Regions from separate parts of the Homo sapiens genome. Here regions 1, 2, 4, 5, 6 and 7 are each linked to region 3. Evidence: promoter capture Hi-C in human tissues and cell types (Jung and others, 2019). All regions are on one chromosome and are shown on one strand. The core of a region is centred on a gene start or on the middle of the fragment in contact, and the rest is flanking DNA. Distances in the headings are between cores, read along the strand shown. Region 1 has its middle 140 kb from the start of ETV1. Region 2 overlaps DGKB (diacylglycerol kinase beta). Region 3 holds the start of ETV1 (ETS variant transcription factor 1). Region 4 has its middle 140 kb from the start of ETV1. Region 5 overlaps DGKB (diacylglycerol kinase beta). Region 6 overlaps DGKB (diacylglycerol kinase beta). Region 7 overlaps DGKB (diacylglycerol kinase beta).

The links. The method cuts DNA at HindIII sites, captures the fragments that hold promoters and counts their contacts. A contact is called where the count stands out against the background at its distance.
Region 1: a fragment that was not itself captured here is called in contact with the fragment with the promoter of ETV1 in region 3 in 2 of the 25 tissues and cell types used here (heart left ventricle and mesenchymal stem cells).
Region 2: a contact is called between a fragment that was not itself captured here and the fragment with the promoter of ETV1 in region 3, in 2 of the 25 tissues and cell types used here (hippocampus and mesenchymal stem cells).
Region 4: a contact is called between a fragment that was not itself captured here and the fragment with the promoter of ETV1 in region 3, in 1 of the 25 tissues and cell types used here (IMR-90 fibroblasts).
Region 5: a fragment that was not itself captured here is called in contact with the fragment with the promoter of ETV1 in region 3 in 1 of the 25 tissues and cell types used here (dorsolateral prefrontal cortex).
Region 6: a fragment that was not itself captured here is called in contact with the fragment with the promoter of ETV1 in region 3 in 1 of the 25 tissues and cell types used here (dorsolateral prefrontal cortex).
Region 7: a contact is called between a fragment that was not itself captured here and the fragment with the promoter of ETV1 in region 3, in 3 of the 25 tissues and cell types used here (adrenal gland, dorsolateral prefrontal cortex and heart right ventricle).

The regions. Positions count from the first base shown.
Region 1 is chr7:14,129,133-14,133,091 of GRCh38, forward strand. No RefSeq gene overlaps it. Among named protein-coding and RNA genes, the nearest start is that of ETV1, 140 kb to the left of the region's middle. The HindIII fragment of the contact is 3,180 bases long and covers 591-3,770 here.
Region 2 is chr7:14,236,580-14,240,346 of GRCh38, forward strand. The region is part of intron 23 of DGKB (diacylglycerol kinase beta); the gene reads right to left. Among named protein-coding and RNA genes, the nearest start is that of ETV1, 250 kb to the left of the region's middle. The HindIII fragment of the contact is 3,921 bases long and covers 1-3,767 here.
Region 3 is chr7:13,987,893-13,991,553 of GRCh38, forward strand. ETV1 (ETS variant transcription factor 1) reads right to left here and starts at 1,774. Exons shown (of 14, transcript NM_004956.5): 1 at 1,671-1,774; 2 at 1,376-1,572; 3 at 1,116-1,247; 4 at 194-281. The coding sequence starts at 1,160. RefSeq lists an enhancer at 3,294-3,661. The HindIII fragment of the contact is 5,948 bases long and covers 1-3,661 here.
Region 4 is chr7:13,845,749-13,849,351 of GRCh38, forward strand. No RefSeq gene overlaps it. Among named protein-coding and RNA genes, the nearest start is that of ETV1, 140 kb to the right of the region's middle. The HindIII fragment of the contact is 7,098 bases long and covers 1-3,603 here.
Region 5 is chr7:14,165,934-14,169,660 of GRCh38, forward strand. All of the region lies in intron 25 of DGKB (diacylglycerol kinase beta), which reads right to left. Among named protein-coding and RNA genes, the nearest start is that of ETV1, 180 kb to the left of the region's middle. The HindIII fragment of the contact is 6,821 bases long and covers 1-3,727 here.
Region 6 is chr7:14,190,687-14,194,646 of GRCh38, forward strand. The region is part of intron 23 of DGKB (diacylglycerol kinase beta); the gene reads right to left. It also overlaps the pseudogene EEF1A1P26. Among named protein-coding and RNA genes, the nearest start is that of ETV1, 200 kb to the left of the region's middle. The HindIII fragment of the contact is 3,302 bases long and covers 451-3,752 here.
Region 7 is chr7:14,206,794-14,210,846 of GRCh38, forward strand. All of the region lies in intron 23 of DGKB (diacylglycerol kinase beta), which reads right to left. Among named protein-coding and RNA genes, the nearest start is that of ETV1, 220 kb to the left of the region's middle. The HindIII fragment of the contact is 5,240 bases long and covers 1-4,053 here.

The sequences.
Region 1 (3,959 bases), core at 931-3,430, 140 kb after region 3:
TGAGGTCTAGAAAGAAGTATAGATTTGATGTTATTGTTTTCTATTTTTAAATTTTATTTTCATTTCTCTTGACAGGAGTTTTAAATTTAAGAGCATTGATAAATGAGGAGAATAACTAACACTCAGGATAAGATAAAAATAACTGTTCTTAAATGTATACATTTTATTGTTCTAAAATGTTAATAGTATGTATGTGGCAGCAAAAATAAGTAATTTGAAATCAATGGATTATTTAGAAAGCTTCATTTATTCCTTTATTAAGCAACAAACCATCTTGATCAAAGGGTCACCACTGATCTTTTAGTTGCATGAACAAAAGGGAACATCTCTTTTGGCCAATGTATTTTCTTATTCTATAAAAAGACAAAAGATATAAAGTAACAACCAAATGAACATTTATCAATAATACTTTTAAATTCCATTCATCAATATAAATTTTAATGCCTTATAATTAAAATATGTTACACCTGACTGCAATCTCTTCCATTTCTCAATTAAGTTTACTTTGCCAAATTGTGTGTGGTGGCCTGCGTATGTGTGTGAAGAAATGAGTGTTAGACAAAACTTGTCTTGCTCTAAAAAAGCCTCTAAAAGGTAGACACCACAGATTGAGAACAAGAGAAAAAAACCATATCTATGATATAACAACGTTAAAAGAAATCCCAGATATTTAGAACTACATCTGTTAAGGTGATCCAAAATATTACAAGCCAAAACCCAACTAATTCTTCATGGATATGCAAATAGAGCTCATGGCACGTAGTTTCTAGAGAGCACAGAAAAAGTTGCAAATATATATAAACATTTTGAAAATATTATTTAGCCCATCTGCAGCTTTTTATAGATTCTAAGTGCTTTAAACTCCTATTTTATCTGTTATTCCTTACACCAATCCATTATAAGTCACAAATTTGTTTTATGGCTGGATACAGTGAAACAAGCTTTGAATGCATTAACAAGTTCTCTAGTGAACAAGTACACATTAAAAGACATGCATTTTCTAACATAGTAAGGATAGAAGAGGGTAGTAAAGAAAATATGAGGGCAGAAGCCTTGGAATTCCTTGGAGAATTCTGAGTTGTGCTAGAAGGGTCTTCTAGGTCAGCTATTATCCAACAACGTTTTCTACCAATGTGTGGTCCATTCTTCACCACCACCCACCTAACTGAACTCTGGACTATGATTTTGATAAGATGTTGCTGGTATGTGTTTCTAATACTCTTGTCCTTTCCTAACTCATTCAAAGTAGATTATACTAATACAAAGGGTTAAAGACACATTATCATATATGAACTTTGAAGCTAATTCACAAATATGTGAAAAATAAAAAATTCACTTTATTCAGTAATGAATAAAAAATAGTAATTCTTCAGTACATTTCGGTAGAATATTAGTAATTCTTTTATCAAATGATTTGTGATAACTTAAAATTAATTGTCATATCATTTATTCATTTCCTTAATTTTGTTGCATGCCCTCTGTGAACCAGGTTTTATGCTAACATATTGAGTAAAATAAAATGTAAATATAAGACAGTTTTCACTATGTTTATGAAGATTACTTTTCTCTGAGAGAGAGATTAATTTAAAAAATACATAAGTGAGTTGGAAAAGTGCTAGATGCCATGAAGTTGGGATATACAATACTATGAGAATATATAGCAGGATTTTTTGAAGTTGTGATATATAATACTATGAGAATATATAGTAGGATTTTTTGCAGGTTTTCTGTTGGTTATAACTCCAAACATGTTGTCTTTTGTACCTCCAGGGTTGGAAACCTGCAAACTACATTTCTTAGAAAACTTTGCCATTTGGCTTCTTTACTAATAGGAGGTACTCTCAGGAGGCTCAAAGCAAAAAAGAAGGCATTAAGACTTTGTTTTTCCTGCTGCCAGTTTGTGGCTGCCGGTGTAGTAATATCAGCAGACATGGTGACTATATGAGACTCCAGGTTCGTCCCAGCAGCATCAGGAGAGATTTAACACCAGTGAAAATCTGGGCTCCTAAGTTTCTGCTAACTGGTGACATTGTGATTCCCACAGCTGCAGTTGCACTGGTGGCACCTCTCACAGTTAGTTGAACAACAGCAAGCCCAGGGAAAGCTTTTATTAGAAAGGGCTGTTTTAGCTATCAGAAAGTACAGGCTACTTGCTCTGCCTGCAAGACACTGTTTTCTTCCCTTGTTATCAAAGCAGATAGGCTATGCAAAGAAGCCCTCTGTGGAGGTATATTTTAGGGACTAAATGAACATCTATATGGCTGAAGACCAGAAAGCAAGGGGAAGGAGTAGTAAGAGAAAAGGCTGGAGAAGAAGGTAGGTGAATGAATATGCAGAGAATTCTAAGTACCTTCTGATAGCACAGAGAAGCCAGAAAAGGATTTGATACATACATATTTTCCGTTTTTCATTTCAAAATGTTAACTTTGAACTTTGCCATTAAAAGATTGCCACATAATATATGGGAAGTTTTGTTCCAGATTACTTGAAATGGAGTTCTCATTCTTTGGGACATAACAGGATTTTGTTTGTCCAGTGGATCTACGTAATAATAACCATGATAGTAACAGAAACAATGGTCATAATACTGTGCATAATAGCCCCTGTTTTTGAGCACTTTCTCTGTAGCAGATACTGTTATAAGCATTTAACATGCACGTGATAATTCTAACAGAATTAACCTTGGCGGAAAAGTCTAATTTGTTTTCACTTTATAAATGAAGAAGCTGAACTTTAGTGTTTCAAGTAACTCTCAAGAAGTCAAATTGCTAATATGGTATAATACTGTCCCATTCCCTATAATTTTAGCCTTGTGCTTTTCTGCTTTCTAACTACCTTCTTAAAAAAGAGGAACAAATATGTTTCTCGTCGTTGATATTTTGACTAAAAATAAATTTTTCTTTTTCCTCTCTCAGTTATATAATGTTTTCAAGATATTTAATCCTGAATTTCATCTGTATACCTGGTTAAATGTGGGATAAGTGGATTAAAAAAGAGGGGGCATTGTCTTTGCACAACTAAAAGTATGATACACATAAGGTTACTGTGATGGCTACAATGCCATACTAACCAAATTCTCTTTTAATTTCCTTAATTTTGGCACACAGAAAATCTAGCTTTTTCACTTCCTTGCAGTTAGGTTAGGGCCATGTGGATGGGGTCTGGTGTGACTTGTTCTGCTAATAGAATGTGAGCAGATACGATGCAAGCCACTTACATGCCTGTTGGTAAAGGATCTCTATGTTTATCCCCACTCTCCTTTTTTTCTGTAGTCACCTCAGAGGCCTTATGCTTAATTTAACAGCATCATATCATCCAATTCATGAGAAATTATAATGTGAGTGAGAAATAGACTTTTCTTTTTTGTTCGTGTTGCCACTGAGATTTGTTTTTTTAAACATATGACCTAATGTTAACTACCTTGGCCACTAGAAGACAGGCCAGCTGTGGTTGATTTAGAGTGTTCCCCACCTTCTTTGGGAAGGTCCATTCTAAGTACAACTGCTGGTACTCTGTTCTAGAATCACTCTGTGGTTGAGGCTGTAAAACTGGATCCTGGCCCCTACTGCACTTGCAAGATCTCTTCTGTTTTCGCCTTTATTTCAGAAGAGTTCCTGCTATTTCAGTGGCCTGAGAGGTCTACTTATTGTTAATAGTATATTAATTTCTACTATGCTATCTTTAGCTTCCCATGGTATAATTTTGCCCTGAATCATATCTAAAATCACACTTTGGTGATCATAGCTTCAAACTCTGGAAGTACAGACCTTTATCTTATTAACTTACCAACGTGAGTTTCCATCCACATTTAATTCAGAGGAAGAAACAAGGGGGAAATTGCAGCTGCTTAAAGACTCCTCAGATTTAGGGGACAATAAGGAGATATTGGAATATTAGTATCTGAGATGAATAAATAGGGAGTTGACATTGGAAACAAGGGAGATTCTTTTGAGGAGAAG
Region 2 (3,767 bases), core at 617-3,116, 250 kb after region 3:
ATTTTAGAACTGCTGGGAAATCTCAGCTGAAGGAAACAAAGAAAAGTTCATAAAATTTTCTAAAAATCAAAGTCGTGAAATTTTTTCCCCCTATGAATTATATATTAGAAACAAGTAATTCAATTCCAACTTTCTCTTTCCTGTGATAGTGAAAAAGCTTATAAACCAACAACTTAACACATGAAAGCCATTTTAATTCTCACACCAGCACACATCTCACAAGAATTGAAAATAAATAGAAAAATATGTGGTGAAAACAGTCGTGTAGACCCCTAAACATTTTCAGAATTTAACATTAAGCACTTTTTTTTTTCTCGTGGTGACTTTTCTTTTTCCCTTTCCTAAGTTGTAATGTGATGTTTATCCTCCACTTAATTTCTTGGCAATGTGGTAGTGGATCAATAAATCAATCTGGCATATTAACCCTAGCAATCATTTTGGAATGTGGATAAACTTCTTTCTGTTATTGCTTAAATTTGTGCTCTTCCTGTAAATGAGGTTCATTTTATAAACCACAGGTAAAGTTCCATAGTCCAGCGTTACACTTGCCTAGCACATTTCTACATGAATCATTTGTGATATGCTACTACTTTGTTTAAAATATATACACCCACAAATGTAAGTATTTATATGCATATATATTATTTATGTATAAATGTGAAGGTGAAATTGACTCCACTGAAACAAGCAACATGGGCTATAAATGGTATGCTCAATGTATTCATGTTTCATTCTTCCCTTCCTCCATTCCTCCCTTTCTCCCTCTTTCCTTCCTTCTATTACTTTTGACTTCCTTCTGGTTTGTGTATTGTCCTTTATTCCTTCAAGAGACAGGCTGTGAAAGCGCTAATATATGAGGAATTTATTCTTTAATGTAGTGTGTTCAATCCACTAACGTCCTTGCCTAGGCCACCAAATAGGCATTAATGTGAGAGCACAGTCTTGAGTAAGTATAGATAATATATATTTTATTATAATATTTTACAGTTACTCAAGGTAATTTTAAAAATGCCATTTGAATTTTCATTCATATATAATTCATGCTTTTATTTTGAATATGAATCAGAAACAGGCCTGAGAGCAACAAAATAGTTTATGTAGTAGAATCAATAATATGATTACCTAAGATATGCAACAAGATGCTAAAATGCATTGTTATCTTGGCACCGAAAAATAGATCATCTTTTTTAATTTGCCTGTTTAAGATAACATAAAAAACAAGACGTTTGTTTTTTATTTTTCTTGATAATCTTTGCAGTGTTTAAGGAATGTTAATCATTCATTCATTCAATATTAATGTAAACACAAAAAGTAATCAATAATCTTGTCCCTAGTAGAGGTGATAATTATTAAAGGCCATTTATATTACTACATATGTCACTAAAACTTCACAATATTATTTTTGTATTAACACATTTTGAATATGTCTATTAGATTGGTGTTTCCTATATATACACCCATATGACAAATATCTCTCGGGTTGGTGAAAGGAAAATTTCTCTGAAACTCATAACCCTTTTATCAGAAATAAGAATTAATGAAAACTGTTTGATATGGTTTGGCTCTGTGTCCCCACCCAAATTTCATGTTGAATTGTAATTCCCATGTATTGAGGGAGGGACCTGGTGGAAGGTGATTGGATCACGGGGAGGATTTCCCCCATGCTTTCTCATGATAGTGAGTTTTCATAAGATCTGACGGTTTAATAGTGCTTGGCAGTTTCCCCCTTCATTCTCTCTCTTTCTTGCTCTGACATGTGAAGACTGTGCCTTGCTTCTTCTTCTGCCCTAACTATAAGTTTCCTGAGGCCTCCCCAGCCATGTGGAATGGTGAGTTAATTAACTTTCTTTTCTTTATAAATTATCCAGTCTCGGGTAGTTCTTTATAGCCGTGCAAAAACAGACTAATACTTTTGATTTTTTTACTTAGTTTCCAGGAATTTCCAGGCTACATTTTGGGCTTAACAAGAATAACTTTTCTTAGAGTACATTTTCTGATTTAATAAAAATAAAACAGCAATGATCGTAGCAAATCATTCTGAAAATGGTACAGGACAGAGGGTTAAAGTTGTTGTCTTCTGTAGAGAGAAGAGAGGTGGACGTGAAGTTGAATCTAGGCAGGGTAGTTACAGGCAATCCTCTCTATGTGGGATGTCTGGGTGGTTGAATTGCTGAATGGTTACAAATGGTGGAATTTCATATTATATCTATGAGTACCTAGTAATTAATTTTTAGATGCTTATTGAAATATCATGAATACAAACTAAGGATGTTAGCATGCTTTATATGGGGTCTTACATTTTTAAAAAATAATTTTTTTATTTGTTGTTTTTACTAGGTCAAAAAAGGATAGAAACATCTAAAACAATGATTATGTTACAGTGAAGAAGGACTTTGTTTTGTCAGCAATGGAGCATTTTCCAAGGGAGATAGATGAATGCCCACTCCCACTGCCTAACTTTGTAACTGCTTTTGCTGTTTGTTTCCTCTCATTCATTTTGCATTCGTGTTAGGCTTGCATCTGTTTATGTTACTTGTCTATTATTCATCTACAGGATAACTGCTCAGCAGTCGTTACTTCCTTTCATATCTTTTCTGCATCTTTTGTTTCCATGGGTTGTTTTGGCAATAAAACCAAGAAAAGGGTACAAAGCTTATAAAAAAGTGCAGTTGGAACATCATGTTTTTACAGCTCTAAGAACATTATTGCTGATTTCAAAAAGTTTTTTTAAATGTTAAAATGTATTCAGCAAAGTTTAAAGCTCATAGGTATGATAAATTTGAAAATTTGAGAAAATGAAATTTAAAAAGTGTTTCCAAAACAGCTCGCTACTGTTTGATCTTCACATGGCAGTCTGCCTTGTGCAATTCTCTGTTTACTGTACATTTTAATACCTAAGTTTCAAGCAATGAAGTCATAGTAATTCCTTACATTTGTATAGCACTTCATAATTTTATTGTGTGATTACTCATTCATTATGTCCTCTAATCTTTCTAGGTAGATAATTAGCATCTTCATTTTAGGATAGGAAAAAAGAGAGTAATAACTTTGTTAAATGACATGCTAAGATCAAAAGATCAATGGATCTCTGAGCCTGGAATCTACACTAACTTGATACCTGGTGTGGGTCAGGAGAATCCTCACAATATAAAGTTGCTCCAGACTTCCTGCAAGCCTAAGTGGTAAAATAAGGTTTGGGGATTTTAGATTATGTTAGCATAGTTTTATGTGTGATTTTAAATCATTATTGTGTCTCCAAACTTATTAAGACTCTATCTATCTATTATCAAGGGATTGAAGTTTAGCTGGGAAAGGGGACTAATACGTATCTATTTTACCATATTACCTTTATAAATCCTTAAAGGAATATACTTTAGGTCTTATTTTTGACATGAAGAAAAAATTAAAAATAATTTGATCCTGCTACCTTACCAGCCACTGCGTATACGTTTTGTTTAGAAAATAATGGAAAGAAACATGTGACAAAGTGGAGAAGATAACACCATAGAGGCACATATATGTTCTGTATCTTCCCTTATCAATTACATATTACCAATATATATATGCCCAATAAGCAGAAAACTTTTCTGCCAAAGAGATTTCACTTTTATGTCTCTGTTAAATAATTTCTACATTCTACGTCCCACTGTTGTAAAAGAACAACCCAGTAATCCCTCAAAGCCTAGGTTCCATGTAAAATAAATTTTGTACGATCATTATGTAGTACTTGTGAAAAGTCATAGAATTTTAAAAAGCATTTGATTTGC
Region 3 (3,661 bases), core at 524-3,023:
TGTGATAGGACCATAAAATAGTCTCCCATGCAAACTGCCGCATTATGTAAATCGTTCCAAGTTAAAGTCTTAGTTAGATTCAGTAATTTCAAAGTTTATTATTTTTAAGATAAGACTGAAGTGCTCCTTTTCTTTTAGCAGGGTGGAGAGTGTAGGTAAAAAAATGGGGATTCAGCCCAAAATCAAACCTCACCTTCTGAATCATGAGCCAGATCTCTGTTAATGAATTTTCTTTTCCTGACATTTGTTGGTTTCTCGTTACAATTTCTCCCACGCTGACTCTACAAAGGGAAAGATAAAATCCTTTAAAAGAATGTAAACCTCAGATCACACACACGCACACGCGCGCGCACACACACACACACAGACATGCATACATAAGTCTAATGGATCTTCTCTGAATAGAAAAATAGAAGTCCATAGTATCAACTCTAATATTCATTTTCTCACTTATTTGACAGTGAAAGCTTATGTTAAGCAGGCAGGGAGAGTTGCTTCCCAGTGCCGATCTTAGCACATTACTATTTATCAATCATATATTCATGGTATCTCAGCATCAAAACAACCTGAAGCATTTACACTTAAAGTTGTTTTTAGGCTGGTTCAATGCTAGATTAAAACAGTGGGTTTTATTCTCTCTTGGACAGCCCCTCCTCCCCACCCCACCCCCACAAAAAAAAAAAGCAAAAAGAGTAGAGAAATGAAAAAAAAAAAAAAGAGAAAATGAGAAAAAAAAAAGAAACAAAAACACCCCATATAAACAAAAAGTGTCAGCATTTGTCTCAACTTCATTCTTTTCAATGTGGCAGACAAACCCAGCCAAAAACTTTGAGTGCAGCAGCTGCTGCTGCCCTCCATCTCCTCTTCCACTCATGTTGGGCACTTTAATCAGAAAAAGGGGTCTTAAAAACAAAACTATGCCTTATCCAAATCACTGAAAGGTAAGCTCATTTTGAAGACTGGGCTTCTAGAAGCAGAGTCGCCCTACAGTGGCAACAAAGCAGATAAGTATCTGCAATCCCAACCCCCGTGCCCCCTCCCTTCTCATTTTCTCCCTCTCCCCACCCCCGACGGAGTCAAGTTTATAAACAGCAACTTTCAAACTGATCACTCACATTGGTGACCATGTAAGGCACTTGCTGGTCATAAAATCCATCCATGCTGCTGCTCTTCGCAAATCTCAGCTCAGTATTTTATATTTTGAGCATTTAGCTGGAGATTTCCTCAGGATCTGGACTTCTATCAACCTAGAGGGGAACAAGATGGCTTTTAGGCTTAAAAAAAAATCATGAATGAAGCTCTTGAATTTGCATAGCTAATTACCCTCCGACAGTCCCATTCACAAAAATAACCCTCCCTACACCGCCTCCTTCACCTGGATCCAAAGAGAGCCAACAGAGTTCACAATTTACATATTTTCGGTAGTAGCAAAAATCCGAACAAGAGGCGATGTATTTATTTACACTCTCGATGTTTCCCTGCGCGGTCGGTGTACCCCGGGCAGCTCTGATTCGCAAACGTGTGCAAAACTAGCAATGGCGATCAACGAGACTTGCTTTGCACCTAACGGGACTAAAGAGACGGAGACACCTCTTTCATCAGGATAGTTTTTGCGACCCACAACCATGCAATTATCTGGAGAGACATAAAAAGTTGTTGGAAAGACCCACCTGAAGGCCACGCTAGGCGAAAGGCTGCAAAAACTTCCCTCCAAATTTAATAAAAACATTAATTATAGCCCAGCACTTCCCCCTTGGAAGCCGAAAGCGCCTCTGACAGAGCTCAATTCGGTGGTTTTTCCTCTACTTCTCCTCCAGGGGCCTCCAATCCAAACTGATGGATCGCTGCCTCCCATTGGCTCCGCGTCTCTTTCACAAGATCAGATTTCGGGCTGTCAATCAGGCGGCTTGCTGCCCCTTCCCGCGGGTCTCCCTCGCCCCTCTGCCCTAGGGGGTGCTCGGCCGGTAGGCGCTGGGTCCTCAGCCTGGAAGCGCCACGGAGAGACTCGATTTCCTCTGTAACCCGCTGCTTATTGTTAAGGCGCCTGGGGATACTGAAACCGTGTGTTTCGAGTCGCCAGTTCCCATTATTGGGGTGTTAGGTCCACTATTGGGCTGGTTTCCTTAAAGTACTGTTGTGCGGTTCTGGTATACCCTTAGAGCCGCGATCCACAAAGCCCGTACCGCCTTATTCAGCTGCCCTCCCCTCAGGATCTCCAACCTCTCTACTCTTGCCCTGACTAGGAGCTCACCTCGCTCTCTATCCTCATTCCCACTCAGCTTTTGGCCCAATTTATTTTCCCGTTTTTCAAAACCCACCATCACCATTATGGTTTATCGAAACATTTTTTAAACAGTCATCCTCAACTAAAATTAGATCCTATCGTTCGTGGGACAGAAACATAAAGAATCTATAAGGAAGGCACCTAGGAGATGCAGAATTGCTGATTAGCAGAGGTTGTGATGGGAGGACAACAGAGCAAGCTAGGTGAAAAAGTATAAGTCAAAATGGTCCCTACGTGTGCACTGGGAAAAGGTACTTCCAGTCCACTGTGGCTGTGGGGAGGAGGAGGGAGTGCTTGGGGTTGCTCGTATATCCTAGAACCCGCACGTTTCCTGAGCTTTTGTTATGTATACACGGAGGCGGAGGGTGTCACTTACTGTACTTGACGCTTTCACTTCCTCTCCAGCTTTTAAACAGCCAGAGCCCAGGGTTGGGGGCGAGCGGTGAGATGGCTCGGGTTTCAAGGACAATAACTAGGACGTTAAGCAGTGAGGGCTGCATCTCTGAAGCCACTTGCCCTGATCCTCCTATGGGACTCAGAACAGTAAAGCGTCACTTTAAGGAGCCAGTGTCCAACAGCGGACGGGAGGCCGCGGGGATAGGACCAGGGACTCAATGCTGTTGAAATTCATTTGTGACCAGAACTAGTGACCAAAAGACGTTTCCGGCAGCTGTTCCGCCCGTTAGGAAACGTGCTGCAGTTCTCAATTTCTATTTGAAAGTTTCCTTCCTTAAATAGAACGTTATGGAGACACATTAAAATGGAGTGTAAGAGCGCACAGCACTCAACCCCGGACCTGGGCAGGAGAAAGATCTACTTAAAAAAGAAGCAAACAAACAAACAATCAACACTTATTACTGGGAAAACAACCAATAACTATGGACAGCAAAGACAGACCCCGCGCATTCCCGGAAACTACTAAATCGGAGTTCACAACGCGCGCACCTATAAGCATTTTGAGCGGGAACTGCATTTTAACCCCGGCCAAGGAGAGATTCCAGGAAGCGCCTGGGCCCCGAGGCTGAACAGTGAAGCTCATGGGTACTATCTGAGGGTGCAACCAAGCAGGGGGTCAATAACAAGGGTCCTCCACCACCCTGCACTCCTGGAATAACCCAGCGCCTGTAATCTGAGCAACAGTTTCCAAAGACCTTCTCTGCAGCCCGAGCCTGACGGGTATCCAGGGTAACCGCGAGGGGGCGGAGCTTCGGGTTAGGTCCCGGCGAGGTTCTTCCCGCAGCCAATAACGAGCCGTAAATCCCCAGCCCATTGTTGTTTATTGCTGACCCCTCAGCGCTCCGCTAGGAGATTGGCCGCTTTAGGGAAGGGGGCGGAGTCCCGCCCGCCCCAACAGCCACCTTTCGTCTCCATTCACAA
Region 4 (3,603 bases), core at 934-3,433, 140 kb before region 3:
ATAACAATACTTTAATAACGGAAGTACATCACGTCCAAAATATTTTCTTTGGATGAGGGAAAGTACAGTCATGATGTTTTCATCATGTTTTTCTTTTCCCTCGAATTTTCTACATTGAAAATGTCACAAATATATGATTTGAAAAAAATGTTATTTTGAAAAATAAATAAGAAAAACAACACAGTTGCCCAGTTAATTAATTGCAACTTTAGAAGCTTTATGAAGTCATTGGTTTTAAGAAATACCATATAAATGATCTTAAGCACCAGAACAGAACATTGATTTTAGATAATGAGGAAACTCTTATTATTGATAGGGTTCCCGACATGATACCCCAAACACGATACCTCAGCATCTGAGAAAACAGCAGAAGCAGAAAGGCCACTCTCACATTCTCCCACACTTGTCCCCTGATGGAAGCCATAAAAGTATTATCTGGCCGAGCATGGTGGCCTGTAATCCCAGCACTCTGGGAGGCCGAGGTGGGCTGATCACCTGAGGTCAGGATTCAAGACCAGCCTGGCCAACATGGTGAAAAACCATCTCTACTAAAAATACAAAATTAGTCTGGTGTGGTGGTGCACACCTGTAATCCCAGCCACTCGGGAGGCTGAGGCAGGAGAATCATTTGAACCCGGGAGGTGGAGGTTGGAGTGAGCCAAGATCACGCCATTGCACTCCAGCCTGGGCAAAAAGAGTGGAACTCCGTCTCAAAAAAATAATAATTATTATTATCTAAACTTCCTCTGAGTGAATCATAAGATCCTCATTCCAGAGATGCCCTCCTTATTCCCAGAGGAAAGTAATGTCTTTACCTCTGAGGACACAGGGACATGAAGAAGAATCTGAAGCAGAAGATCTTGCGAAATTCCCCTACTTTATTACCATTAGATCATACTTTGTTCATTTATACTTCTAAGCAACTATTCACGCTTCATCAAACCTAGCATAAAAATATATAGGTTTTCCTGTTTCCTTGGGTCTTCATTTACAAAGGCTCCCATGTCATGTAAAACTTACATTAAATAAATTCACATGCTTTTTTCACATGAACCTAGCAATGGGTGAAAAAGAAATTACTTTTTTATCCCTTGCAGTTTCTGGCACCCAATAAATCTCTTCTCCCTAATACCATCCTTATTCTGCAATAGATAAAGGTCAAGGTTAGTAAAGAGATAATAAAGATCCAGAGAGGTTACCTGTTTAATTATAGGACTGAAAATAAAAACCACTTTATGAAAAACCAAAGGCAGGAAAGAATGTTCATTGACATTTAATACCGACTCTTGCCATGCTTAAACACACACATATACACACACAAACACATGCACTTTCAAGCACCTCTAATATTCATCAAGATACTCAACCAGGGCCCTGCGTGTCACTACCACACCTTGTCTCTATAATAATTGCACCTGGTCTCTATAACATCTACTGCAGAGAGTTCTTGTGTGCAAGATGATCTATGGAGTGTGGGTAGAAAAATTTAATATGTGTGTTTACACCTGCATTTTTCTCATTAATAAAAAAAGGATTAATAGTAGTATCTATTCCATATGGTTGTTTCAAAGGGTATATGAGTTAATTCACAAAAAGCATTTAAAATAGTTTGGAAGAAAGTTCCTTGATCAATACATGGTAGCAATTATTGTTATTACTATTATTATTGCTGTTGTTCATTTTTTAATTAGACACAGGTTGAGTTTTGCCTATATTTACAACAGTAACAGCAGTGATAACTACAGAAATACACTTATCTTGGGTATGCATATTCAAAAATGTTTAGATGCGTTTCATAATTGACATGCAGAAAAAAATAGCCAAATTAAATCATATCTCAACCTACTGGGTGCTTAAATTTAGCCAAGGTGAAATGCTCTTTCTATATCTTTGTGGAGTGTCTCCAGCCTGAATTCTCTTCTACCTTCTCTTTTCAGCTGAGTACTTTCTTCAATCCTCAATATAACCATCTGTGTATCTCCCTGATCCTACAATGTCCCTCTCTTCCATTTCATCTCTGTTCTCACAGGAATTATAAATATTTGTTTTATAGTACTTTTCCCATTGTATTTTAATTGGTTATAAATTTGTTTATAGTATTTGATTATAAAATACTTGAGGATAGCAACTGTGTCTTAGTGAACTTCATTTCTCTGGTGACTAACACAAAGCTAACAACTGTTTGCAGGAGAAATATTGAATGATCTCCCTTTTTATCTTGACATAGAAATTGATTAATTTCTTTCCCTGTAGGATGGTACAGGAAAAACAAAATTTTATGTATACAATTTACAAACATAGATTTCCTTTTCTTAGGTTATTAAAATCTGGCCAGAGATTCATTCCACAATGACATCTCCCTGGAGGCGACGACTTTAGTTTTCCTTCACTTCTATCTGACTTTGATGTTTGACCAAGATGTTCAAACTCTTAACCCAGAGAAGACACCTAAGGAAGCCACATGGTGTGGGAAAAAGTGACATATTTTAGTTTCATATAAAACTCCATTTTTTATGTTGGCTGTGCCATTTAGGAACAGAGATTTTGAGAAATATAAATAATTCTTTCTCTTCTTCTTTGACTTTATCAGTAAACTTAAAATTATAAAGTTTAACTCACAGCTTGCTCTTTTATTTCTTTTGAGAACATAAAATCACAGATATCTTATTTGATTAATTTCCTTATACAGGGTAGATATCACTACTGACAACCTCTATCAACTCCTTCTTCTAAAATGAGACTTGTGACTTGTGTTTTTAATTTTTTAACTGTTAGATAATTATATCATTCCTTTAAAATATAGTAAGCTCCTTGATGACACACTCAATCTCTCCCTTCTCCCAGAGTGCTTAATCAATATTTGTTTCTTGAATTGAATAGAACTGAGTGGTAAGATTTCCCTCCAATTTTGGTTATTTTCTAATATGAGAGTCTGGATGATCTACTCCCTCACGTACACAGTGCATGTGCCCTGGCGTGACTCGGCAGGCTCTGATCACCAGCCAATTTTCGGCAGCAAACCCGTATTTTTTTTTTATTCTGAGAAATTATAAAAATAACATTCCTGCCATCACTTCATCAATTCATAAAGTGACTTTAGTCTCTTGCTTTCTAATTCCTTTCATTTCTCCTTTATAAGCCTGCCAATAGCCTGGGCCTTTGCTGGCCTTACATATTTAATCAGAGTAACCAATGCTGAGGATTTTTACAGGGAATTAAGTTTGATTTGTTTTGAAACATTTATTTATTCCATATGGCATTTAAGTGACTGAATTATTTTTGGTGTTGGAATGAGGTTGCATAAACTGGATTCAAATTTAAAACAGACACACACACACACACACACACACACACACACAGCTAAAGCCCAGGAGTAGTTCTGTAGGAAATATCCACTGTAAAAGGAAAATGGACGTACAACTGAGGAATCAGATTAGGAGATTTGGCAAAATCACAAAGATAATTTTGCTAACATTGGAGTCACCAACATAAAGCTCCACAATTTAGGCCAATACTGGGTTGCACAGTATAGTGACATTGTGGCTTTCCTCCCTGGAATCACCATGTCACTGCCATGCTGTTGTGTCCTGGATTTAGCTGACT
Region 5 (3,727 bases), core at 850-3,349, 180 kb after region 3:
TGGTATTTCTTCCTTTCTGAACCTTTTATCCTTAGGCAAACAAGCTTAACGAACTGCTGACAATTTCAGCAATAATAAAAGGTAGGAACAGTCCCGGTTCTATAACTCTTTGTTTCATGACCTTGGACATTCACCTAACCTCATCCGTATAGTCTAAAAGTGTCTTATACTAACAGATAACTTACTTGGAATAGTCCTAAAATGTGTTCGCCTACAATGTAATTTAAAAAAGAAAATCTCATGTGGTCATCCACATCATTACTCGCCTATAGAAATACCTAAAACCTTAATCTTATAAGTGGGTAAAAACAACTAAACTTTTTTGGTCAATTATTTTCTCTCAATGTGGTAAATGCTGTCTCAAACTGCTTAAATCTGGGGCACAAGAGTAGAAAAAATATCAGTGATGTTTTCTCAAATTGGGTATGTTTTAAGATTCAAGGTTTAGGGCATTTATTAGACTTATTTAGTATTTTTGGAAGGAATATGAAAATGGGGAATAATCTATGAAATCTCCAAGTCAGCACGCAGGTAGTTCTAGCTAATAATATGCCAATCTGATGGAGAGAATTTAGCCAGATCTCAAAATAGTCATAAACAAGAAAATCTAATGGTGTGGGGGTGTGGGTTCCAATTTCAGTTAAGAAGGAATAAGCACTCTTCACTCTATCTCTCCCACTGAATGCACTATAAACCCTGGGCAGAACACATGAAGCAGATATCTGAAGTTGCTGAAAAGAAAATAATAAAAGGCAAATTGGGGAAGAAGACCAGAACATGAAGTGCCATCAAACCAGTGATGAGTTTTTAGTTTTTAGTTTTTTTCTCTACTCTTGCACCTCCTGGCCTGGACTTAAAAGCAGAACAAAAACTGGAATTGTATACCAGGTACAGATAGAAAGTGCCAAGAAAAACCCTGTCCTACTGGTACAAAAATAGGAAAGAAGGGCCCTACAGATCAGAGTGAATGGGAAAAATATTCGTTAATCAGGCCAGACACAGTGGGTGGCTCATGCAGGTAATCCTACCACTTTGGGAGGCCAAGGCAGGCGGATTGCCTGAGCTCAGAAGTCTAAGACCATCCTGGCTAATAGGGTGAAAACCCATCTGTACTAAAAATACAAAAAATTACCTGAGCGTAGTAGTGTGTGCCTGTAGTCCCAGCTACTAGGGAGGCTGAGGCATGAGAATTGCTTGAACCCGGGAGGCGGAGGTTGCAGTGAGCCAACTTCATGCCACTGCACTCCAGCCTGGGTAACAGAATGAGACTCCATCTCAAAAAAAAAAAAAAAAAAAATTCTGTTAATCATTTCCATCCCAGTCCTCTGGCAATTCCATGGCAGTGGAAGGTAATTAAAACTCCAATGGAGGAGACATCTTTTCTCTGACTAGAGAAAGTATGTTCCCAAAGCATGGGGGGAGTCCTACTCCTTTTTTCTCTCTCTATTCCTTTATCACAGAACCCTGGAGGCAGATGCTACTTCGAGAAATATATGACAAAGTGAGGAAACAAAAGCCTTGGATTATTGGTCAGAGAAACAATATGAGAGCCCTGGGAGTAAAAAAAAAATATCAGAGAGATCATGGAGAGGAGGTGGCTTGAGAAAGCTATCCTATGAAGTTGCATTTGATCACCTGAGTTTATCCCTTAGCTGTGTATGCATAGATTTGACCTTAACAAACATACTGATGACTTTGAGAGCTGCATTTGGGGGTATATCATCACCAAGTTTTCAGACAGGCATATGGATCTTTTACAAGTAAGATACATCTGAATAACATTGCAAACACTTTGAAAACCAAACAAACATACTGGAACCACAACTCACAGAAGATAGAGCAGCTTTTGTAACCTGAACCTAACAGAGTCAACTACCTGCTAAAATAGTAACAGCAACAACAATAAATTAACATTTCCTGTGAGAATTGAAAATACCTAGAGTCTTATAACACAATATTAAAACTGTTCAGAATATAATAAAAAGTTTCTCAAGATATGAATCACAGAAAAATCTCAAAAACACACAAGGGGAAATATAGCCAATGATGCAAACCCTGAGATGATACAATTGTTGGAATTAACAAAGACTTAAGAGGTATTATAACCATGCTCTAAGAAGTAATGGCAGATACTCTTGAAATGAAATGAAAGACAGAGAGCCTGAACTGAGAAATAGAAGATAGTTAAAAAATGAATCACTGGAAATTTTAAAACTGAAAAATACAATGAACAACATAAAAAATAACTGAAAGGACTCAACAACAGAATGGAGATAAAAGAGAAAAATGTCAGTGAATTCAAACACAGGTGAATAGATATCCAATGTAAACAATAGAAAATATAGAAGGAAATAAAAAGTGAACAGACTCAAAGATCTATGAGACAATACATAAAGTGCTTAACACACGTCATCAGAGTTTTAGAAGGAGAGGAGAGAGTGTGTGGCGTAGAAGTCAATATTTGAAGAAATAATAGCTGGAGATGTGCCGATGTGGCAAAACATACAGCTACAGATTCGTGAAGCTCAGTGAAACTAAAACAAGATAGGCTCAAAGAAACCCATGCCCAGACTCATCAAAGTCCAACTGCTGAAAACTAAAGACAAAGAAAAAAATCTTGAAAGCAGCCTAAGAAAAATGACGTATTACATATTGCAAAGCAATGATTCAAACGACTATGAATTTCTTATCAGAAATTGCACTATGTAAGAAGACATTTGCAAAGTATGAAGGGGAATTAAAGATGAAATTTAAAAATGCTTACAATTAAGTCAGAAGAGCTGGATGCAGGCATGCGTAGCCGAAATACAAGTCTGTGAATTGGAATGCTGTTAAGAAGATATCAACAGAGTCACAGGAGTACAAAGGATCAGGCAAATATTTCTGACAGATGGGAAGTTAAAAAGGCTTCATGAGGAAATTGCTTCTAAGCTTGGCATTGAAGGAAGAGATTTTATTTTATTTTTAGTATGTATGTATTTATATCTCATTGCCTTCCAGAAAGATTTTGAAGTAACTTATAAAAATACATATATCCCAATAGGACAGAATAATTAATTCAGGCAATCTGACTAAAAGGGGAAAATTATGTGTATGAAATTAATAAACCATAGGTAAGACTAGATGAAAGAAATGCAAACCATGGGCCGGGTGCAGTGGCTCACGCCTGTAATCCCAGCACTTTGGGAGGCCGAGGCTTGTGGATCACAAGGTCAGGAGATCAAGACCACCCTGGCTAACACGGTGAAACCCAGTCTCTACTAAAAATTAAAAAAAAAAAAATTAGCCAGGTGTGGTGGCGGGCGCCTGTAGTCCCAGCTACTCGGGAGGCTGAGGCAGGAGAATGGCGTGAACCCGGGAGGTGGAGATTGCAGTGAGCCGAGATGGCACCATTGCACTCCAGCCTGGGCAACAGAGCGAGACTCCGTCTCAAAAAAAAAAAAAAAAAAAGAAATGCAAACCATGAGTCCTAGATAACTACTGGAAGAAGCCACAGATTTGGAGGTAGCCTGCCTGGAGACCAGAAGAATGAATCTATTTCTAAAGCACAAAATAGAGGGTAAGGATTTGAGGCAAAAAACGAAGTACTATGCATGGTAATCCTCTGGGAAGTGGTTCCTATGAGGCATAGCAGTCTGGTCCCGGCCTTGGGAGAATAATTTAATGTCATGACAAAGATTCTGAACTTTTTTCTGTGTAAAATGAGGAGGCATTGAACTTTGAGATC
Region 6 (3,960 bases), core at 852-3,351, 200 kb after region 3:
AAATAAAATCAAGGATGAAGTAGGAGATATTAAAGCTGATACCAACTTTTTTTTGCAATACGTTTGCAGCTAGAACACCAGTGTCATGAAAACCATCCCTAAAGTCAAATGGGAAAGAAAAGAAAAAGACTCCCATCAACATTGTCAAAATTGGACACATTGATTCAGGCAAGTCCACCACTACTGGCCATTTGATCTACAGATGTGGTGGGATTGACCAAAGAACCATCGAAAATTTTGAGGAAGAGGCTGTTGAGATAAGAAAGAGTTACTTCAAGTATGCCTGGGTCTTAGATAAACTGAAAGCCGAACCTGAACATGGTATCACCATTGATACCCTGTGGAAATTTGAGACCAGCAGTTACTACTTGATTATTATTGATAGTCTGGGACACAGATGCTTTGCGAAAAACGTGAATACAGCCACATTTCAGGCTGACTGTGATGTCCTGATTGTTGCTGCTGGTGCTGGTGAATTTGAACTGGTGTCTCCAGGAATGAACAGACGTATGAGCATGCATTTCTGGTTTACACACTGGGTGTGAAACAGTTATTGTTAACAAAATGGATTCCACTTAGCCACTCTATAGCCAGAAAAGGTACAAAGAATCATTGAGAAAGCTGAAACTTAAGAAAATTGGCTACAATGCCAACACAGTAACATCTGTGCCAATTTCTGGTTGGAATTGTGACAATATGCTAGAGCCATGTGCTAACATGCATTGGTTCAAGGGATGGAAAATCACCTGTAAAGATGGCAATGCCAGTGGAACTATGTTGCTTGAAACTCTGCAATGCATCCTATCACCAACTCATCCAACTGACAAGCCCTTATTTGTGGTCTGCCTCTCCAGGATTTCTACAGAATTGGTGATTTTGATACTGTTACTGTGTTCTGAGTGGTGACTGGGTTACCTTTGCTCCAGTCAATGTTACAACTGAAGAAAAGTCTGTTGAAATGCACCATGAGGCTTTGAGCGAAACTCTTCTGGGGGACAAAGGGGGCTTCAATGTCAAGGATGTGCACGTCAAAGATGTTCACTGTGCCAACATTGCTGATGACAGCAAAAATGACCCACCAATGGAAACAAATGGCTTTCCTACTCAGGTGACTATTCTGCACCAAACAGGCTAAATCAGTGACGGCTATGTCCCTGTACTGGATTGTCACACAGTTCACATTGCTTGCCAGTTTGCTGAGCTGAAGGAAAAGATTGATTGCCAGTCTGGTAAAAAGCTGGAAGATGGCCCTAAATACTTGAAGTCTGGTGATGCTACCATTGTCGATATGGTTCCTGGCAAGCTCCTGTGTTGAGAGCTTTTCTGACTATCCTCTGAGTCATTTTGCTATTTGTTCTATGAGACAGATAGTCGCTGTGGGTGTCATCAAAGCAGTGGACAGGAAGGCTGCTGATGGTGGAAAGGTCACCAGAGTTGGTGAGGAAGAAATAAAAGGCATCCAAACTGGGAAGAAGGTAGTCAAATTGTCCCTATTTGTAGATGTTATAATATTTTACATAAAGAAAACTCTAAAGACTCCACCAAAAACTAGTCAAACTGAAAAACAAATTCACTAAAATTGCAGGATACAAAATCAACATACACAAATCAGTAGCATGTCCATAGGATAATAGTGAACTCGCTGAAAAAGAATTTTTAAAACTTTCTTTTACCATAGCTACAAAAAAACTAGATACCTAGGAATATATTTAACCAAGGAGGTGAAAGATCTCTACAATAAAACTGTAAAACTTTGATGAAAAATAAATGGAAGAGGACACAAATAAATGGAAAGACATATTATATTCATGAATTGGAAGAATTTTTTTTAAATGGTCATAGTACCCAAAGTGATCTGCAGATTTAATGCAATTCCTGTCAAAATAACTATAATATTCTTCAGAGCAGCGGTCCTCAATGTTTTTGGCACCAGGGACTGGTTCATGGATGACAGTTTTTCCACAGACCAGCCACAGGGTTGGGAGGTGGTTTTGAGATGATCCAAGTGCATTACATTTATTGTGCACTTTATATTATTAGCACTTTATTTATATTATTACATTGTAATATATAGTTATATATTATTTCATTATGTATTACAATGTAATAATACAACTCACTATAATGTTGAGTCAGTGGGACCCCTAAGCTTGTTTTCCTGCAACTAGATGATACCATCTAGGGGTGATGGGAAACACTGACAGATCATCAGGTGTTAGATTCACATACAGAGTGCTCAACCTAGGTCCCTTGCATGCGCAGTTCACAATAGGGTTTGCACTCCTATGAGAATCTAATGCAGATGCTGATTTGACAGGAGTCTGAGCTCAGGCGGTAATGCGAGTGATGGGGAGCAGCTATAAAATACAGATGAAGCTTCACTCTCACCTGCTGCTCACCTCCTGCTACGCGACCCAGTTCCTAATAGGCCACAGACCCATACGCCTGTTTGTGGCCTGGGGGTTAGGGACCCCTGCTTCAGAGAAATAGAAAAAAAAAAAAACAACTATAAAATTCTGTAGAACTACAAAATACCCTAAATAGCCAAAGACATACTGAGCAAAAAGAACAAAGTGGAAGGGATCACACCACCTGACTTCAAAATACACTATTATACAAAGATATAGTAACCAAAACAACATGGCGCTGGCACAGAAACAGACACATAGACTAATAGAATAGAATGGAGAGACCAGAAATACATTCAACACCTACAGCCAACTGATTTTTGACAAAGATGCCAAAAACACACATTGGGGAAAAAGTAGTCTCTTCAATAAATGGTGCTAGGAAAATTCAATAATCACATGCAAAAGAATGAGACTAGACCCTGACTCATGTTATGTACAAAAATCAACTCAAAATGAATTAAAGATTTAAATGTAAAGTTTGAAACTATGAAACAACTAGAAGAAATCACAGAGAAAATGCTTTATGACGTTAGGGTGGGCAAGGACTTTTTAAATAAGATCTCAAAAGCACAGACAACGAAAGCAAAAAGAGACAAATGGAGTTTCATTGAACTAAAAAGCTTTTGAAGAGGAAACTATTCACAGAGTAAAGAGATAACCTAGCAAATGGGAGAAAATATATGTAGACTATACTTCTAACAAGGAGTTAATATATAGAATATATAAAGGAACACAAACAACTCAATGGGAAAAAAACCCCCAAATACCTCATTTTAAAAATGGGCAAAAGACTTTAATAGACATTCTCAAAAGAAGACATACAAATGGCCATTAGTTATATGAAAAAAATGCTCAATACCACTAATCATAAAGGAAATGTAAATGAAAACCACAACGAGATGTTACTTCATTCCAATTAGACTGGTGGTTATCAGAAAGACAAAAGAAATCAAGTGCTGGTAAGGTTGTGGAGAAATGGGAACACTTATATGCTGTTGGTAGCAATATATACTAGTACAACCATTATGGAAAACAGTATGGAGGTTCCCCAAAAATAGTCAAAATAGAATTAACATGTGATCTAGCAATTCCACTACTGGATGTATAGCCAAAGGAAATGGAATCAGCACGTCAAAAGAGATATCTGTACTCTCAACTTCTGTAGCACTATTTATAATAGCTAATATATTGAATCGACCTAAGTGTCCAACAGTGGATGAATGGATAAAAAATGTGGCAAATATACACCGTAGAATATTATTCAGCCATAAAAAGAATAAAATCCTGTCATTTGTGACAACATGGATGAACCTGGAGGACACCGTGTTAACCGAAATAAGCCAGACACAGAATGATAAATACCACATTATCTCACTCATTTTTAGATGTGGAATAGTAAAAATAATTTTTAAATATAACAAGAAGATAAGAATCTGGTACATAAATGGATTAACAAGAGTCATTTAAAAAATCTAGCAGTGTGAAATGTTGCATTCCCTGTTGAAATCTAAAAATGAGGGGTTAATATATGTTATATTATGTTATATAT
Region 7 (4,053 bases), core at 936-3,435, 220 kb after region 3:
TAATATTATAATGCATAAAGTTTATTTATTGTTGCAACTATTTTTTGTAGAAAGTGTGTGAGCCAATCTCTGATAGGCTAATAGATTGTACTACATGACAATGAGTAGTAAAGCACAACTCATATCAGTTATTAGCAAACATTCTATTAAGAAATGTGAAGAAAACCTAAGTATTAGGGTAAAAATGTATGAGATGGAATTTATAAATGTTGGCAATAACTTTTAATTAATCTTTTATTATACTGTTTCTCTTACTGGGAGTTGAAGAGGTTGATCATGTTTTCTTGCTGCCCAACACTTTTTAAGCAACTTCTATGTTTCAGGAATAGGAACCCTGCCTTTAGAGGGCTACAGAAGCTCTCTCCCTCTGCCTCCTTTGAGGTCAACATGTGATCCATCAGTATGTGATCCATCAACATATGATCCGATAGCACCTGATCCCTCAGACTGTAATCTATCAGAGTGTGAGTCATCGTGTGTGGGATCTTTCAAAGTGTAATCTGCCAACATATGACCTAAGCTTTGCCAGTCGGGTGCATTGGTGTGAGATGTTTGGAATGCAGTGGCTTGAAGAGGGAGATAACAGGCAGAAACAGTTCTGGCCAGGATGGCATGGAGACATTCTGTTCTCTGAGGGCATGGAGTCCGAAGTCCTAGGGGTAGCATCCTGTGCCCAGCTTCTCTGTGGTGAGGTGTTGGACTCATGCACAGAAGCAGAGACATTAAGGTTACCTGTGGGAATGCCAGGCAATGTACTTGGTGAGTGGTTCCTGGCTGTATGGCTTTTAAGCCTAATTATCTGTCCTTTGGAGAGATTTTGGGGGTAACTAATATCAGTAAACATGTTCCTTTTCTCCTCCCACAAATGAGAGTGGATTCTGTGGTTTACAAGTAAAAATCCTGACTGATAAATGTGTCAAAATAAAACTGTTTTTTCATCTTAAGGTGGCAACCTTTTTTTACTCCTTTATTGTACTTGGGAACCAGGGCACACAAACCATGAGGATGAGTATATAAATGTGGAACAAAAGAGGGGAAGGAAATGGATTCCAATACTCTATCTTCAAAGTGAACTAAAAAAATGTAAAATGAATAATCCCCAAAATTATATATGACTTGTCAGCACAATTTCTCATTTGAACCTTGAACCAGCATCTACAGAACTTTGTAGATGAACTTCTATAGAAGTTTGTTTGTAAAGCTCTACTCTATGATATTCTCAGTAAAGTTTTACAGTGATTAAATATGCAAGCTTTTATATGAGTTCTGGGTCCAGATTGTTGCTCCTTAAGTTATTAATTGTGTGACTTTGAAAAAAGTATTTAATCTGTATAAGCACCTGTCTCTCCAGTAAAATAAAACAAAATATCCAGTGAGAGAGTATATTCAACACATTTAGTGCTATGCTTGGCCCAAGACAGACCTTTAATAGTTGCTAGTACTGCTAACAATTAAAATAAAACATTTACTTGAGCTTGAAAAAATATTTCAGGGATGGAACAGGAATAGTGGGGACTAGTATTCGGGTTTTTAAACTGCTGGTGGAAGTGCAGTATTAGAAGGCCTTAAAAACTTGAAGAAAACAAAGACCAGTCTAGGATAAAGAAGTATATTCTACTTAATCTTCATGTTTGAAGTAGGAGGCAGGAAGGATTAATGGGGGTTCAACTTCTACTTCAAACAGTTTCCCTCCCTTTTGCTGGGTTGCAAGGGATTGTAAACAGCCTCAATTTCTCCCTCTTTATACATCTTCTTCCCTCTTTCTTCTGTGTTATGCATTGATATTTCTTTATGTTTGTGTGTACACATATACTAGTATTTCTGTATTGAGTAAAATAATTCAAAACGAGAATAGTTGCATTAATTTTACGACAGTTAAAGGAACCGGCTTTATTGGTTCCATTCTTCATTTTTCTGCATTCTAGCCTTCTCGCTTTGGTTTTGAAATATAGAAGTACTAGGTAGCCTCTGTATCTAGCTTGATTCTTTATTCACTGAAAACACAGCTAGTGTTTTTTCAGTCCTATATGAGTGCTCCAAGAGTTGTTAGAAATAAACAAAAGAATATTCATAGCCTCCTGGAAATAGCTAGTTTTTTTTTTTTTCATTTATCCTTTTTACTTTCTTCCTTTTGGATTCTCCTCTTCTTTCCACTCCATCTCTTAATTGGCTTGCTTCTTGGTAGCCTATATATTCTATACAATGACTTACTAAATTACTGGAGTAATATCGACATACTTGCATACATCGTTTCTCTTTTTTCCTGTAGGGCACATGTCTCAAACAGAATATAATTATAGCTAGATGCTGAGTGGGAAACAAGCAGTCCTTATATATTGAGGACATGAGTATAAGCCTGAGTAACTATTACTACTGATAGAAAAAAAAAAAACGCCAAATTTAAAAAACCATCACCATTCATCAATTTTTAAATTGTATCTCATGTTTAAACATTTATTTGCTTCAAATGAATAATTAAAGTCAGTCCCATCTCCCCCTAAACCAAAATTAAGTAGCATTGAAATTCCTTTTCATAGAGAGATATATACGACAAGATTGGGTATTTGGAAAGATACAGACACTGCTTGCAACTATAAAAACAAGATCAAAACATTTGGATGCCCTTTCTCCACTTCAGTAGGACAGCAACTACACAAGGCTATTCTCTGGAGTAATGATCTTGTCTCCTTCCAAAGGTTTTTTTATCCTATATTCAGGAGGTCATATGCAGTCTTCAGCTGCACAGAGCTCCACTCCTATTAATTTAAAATGGGGGCTCCAGAGGTTCACATTCAGCAAAATCTGCCCCTTAAGAGGTAAGCTTTACCAATCTCCCATTTGAAGAAAAAAAGAAGCGTTTATCTTTGGAAAAAATAACCTACTTAAATAGTCTATCTTCCCTAACAAGAAATAAAGAAAAACTTCAGACATAAGTTAATAAAATATCCTTTTGATTAAACAGAGTTCACTTTATTTTCATGTTTTGGCAACACTGTTTTAGTGGATTTGCATGGGGGGGCTCTGGTATTGTTATTTTATCATTATATTATCATTTTGTTAAGCTATCTGGCAAATTGAAAAGGTTATTCACCCTATGGCTGTCTTTTTTTTTTTAATGTTGAGCATTCATTGAAAAGAATGAAAGAAATCTGGTTGAATATGCAGGTGCACTAATAAATGGGTGGTCTTTGGATTACAGTATTTATGTGTACTGTGGCAAAGCTGAACAGAAACCTAAATGTTATACATACAAAGTGGTACAACAAGAACATCTGTGTTGGGGGGATTGAACTGGCATGGCTAACACCTCCAGTGCCAGGTGCAAAGGAAATTTCAATACAGCTTGAGTAATCTTGACTGCTAGCATCTGCCTGCATCAGATTATCTCCTATGTTCCTAGTCCACCACTATCCATTAGAGTATTTATATGATACATCTGGTGGTGCAATGGCCAAGCAAGAAGCAGCAATGCCTCCGTTACTGGGGGCAAATGCCTGACTCTTTAACTCAATACAAAGGCAAACAGGAATTCATTTCAGGCCCACAGGCAGCCAGCCAACTCTTCAAGACTAATTAGAAGATAGCACTCCAGTGTGATGGCTGCTTTGTCCTTTCAGTTTAGTTACTTACATATCCATGTGCACAATCTGCAGACATTTAACTTTTCATTTTAAAATCCTATTTCTAAATATCATTTCCAGGAAAATAACAGGGTTTTAATATGTTGCCAGAATCACAACAGAGCTTTAATGTGACTTGGCTCAATCCAAAGTCTCAACATGCACCTGATTTTCAGAATGAATCAATGTGGTCGGGTGAGAATGGTGGAGATCATCAGTCCATTAGTCTCCGCAACATCAAATCTCACATGTCCAACAACACAAAGATTATGTCCCTCTCTTCAAGTCTTCAAATCTTTCTCACCTCAAGAGATGACTGTGTCACCTAATGCAGAGAAAATCAGTGGGATTGCTTTAGCAGTCTGCCATCTAAGAATCTACATAAACCAGCACCTACCTTTCCTCTCTGCTTCCTGTTACCATAGATGTGTGA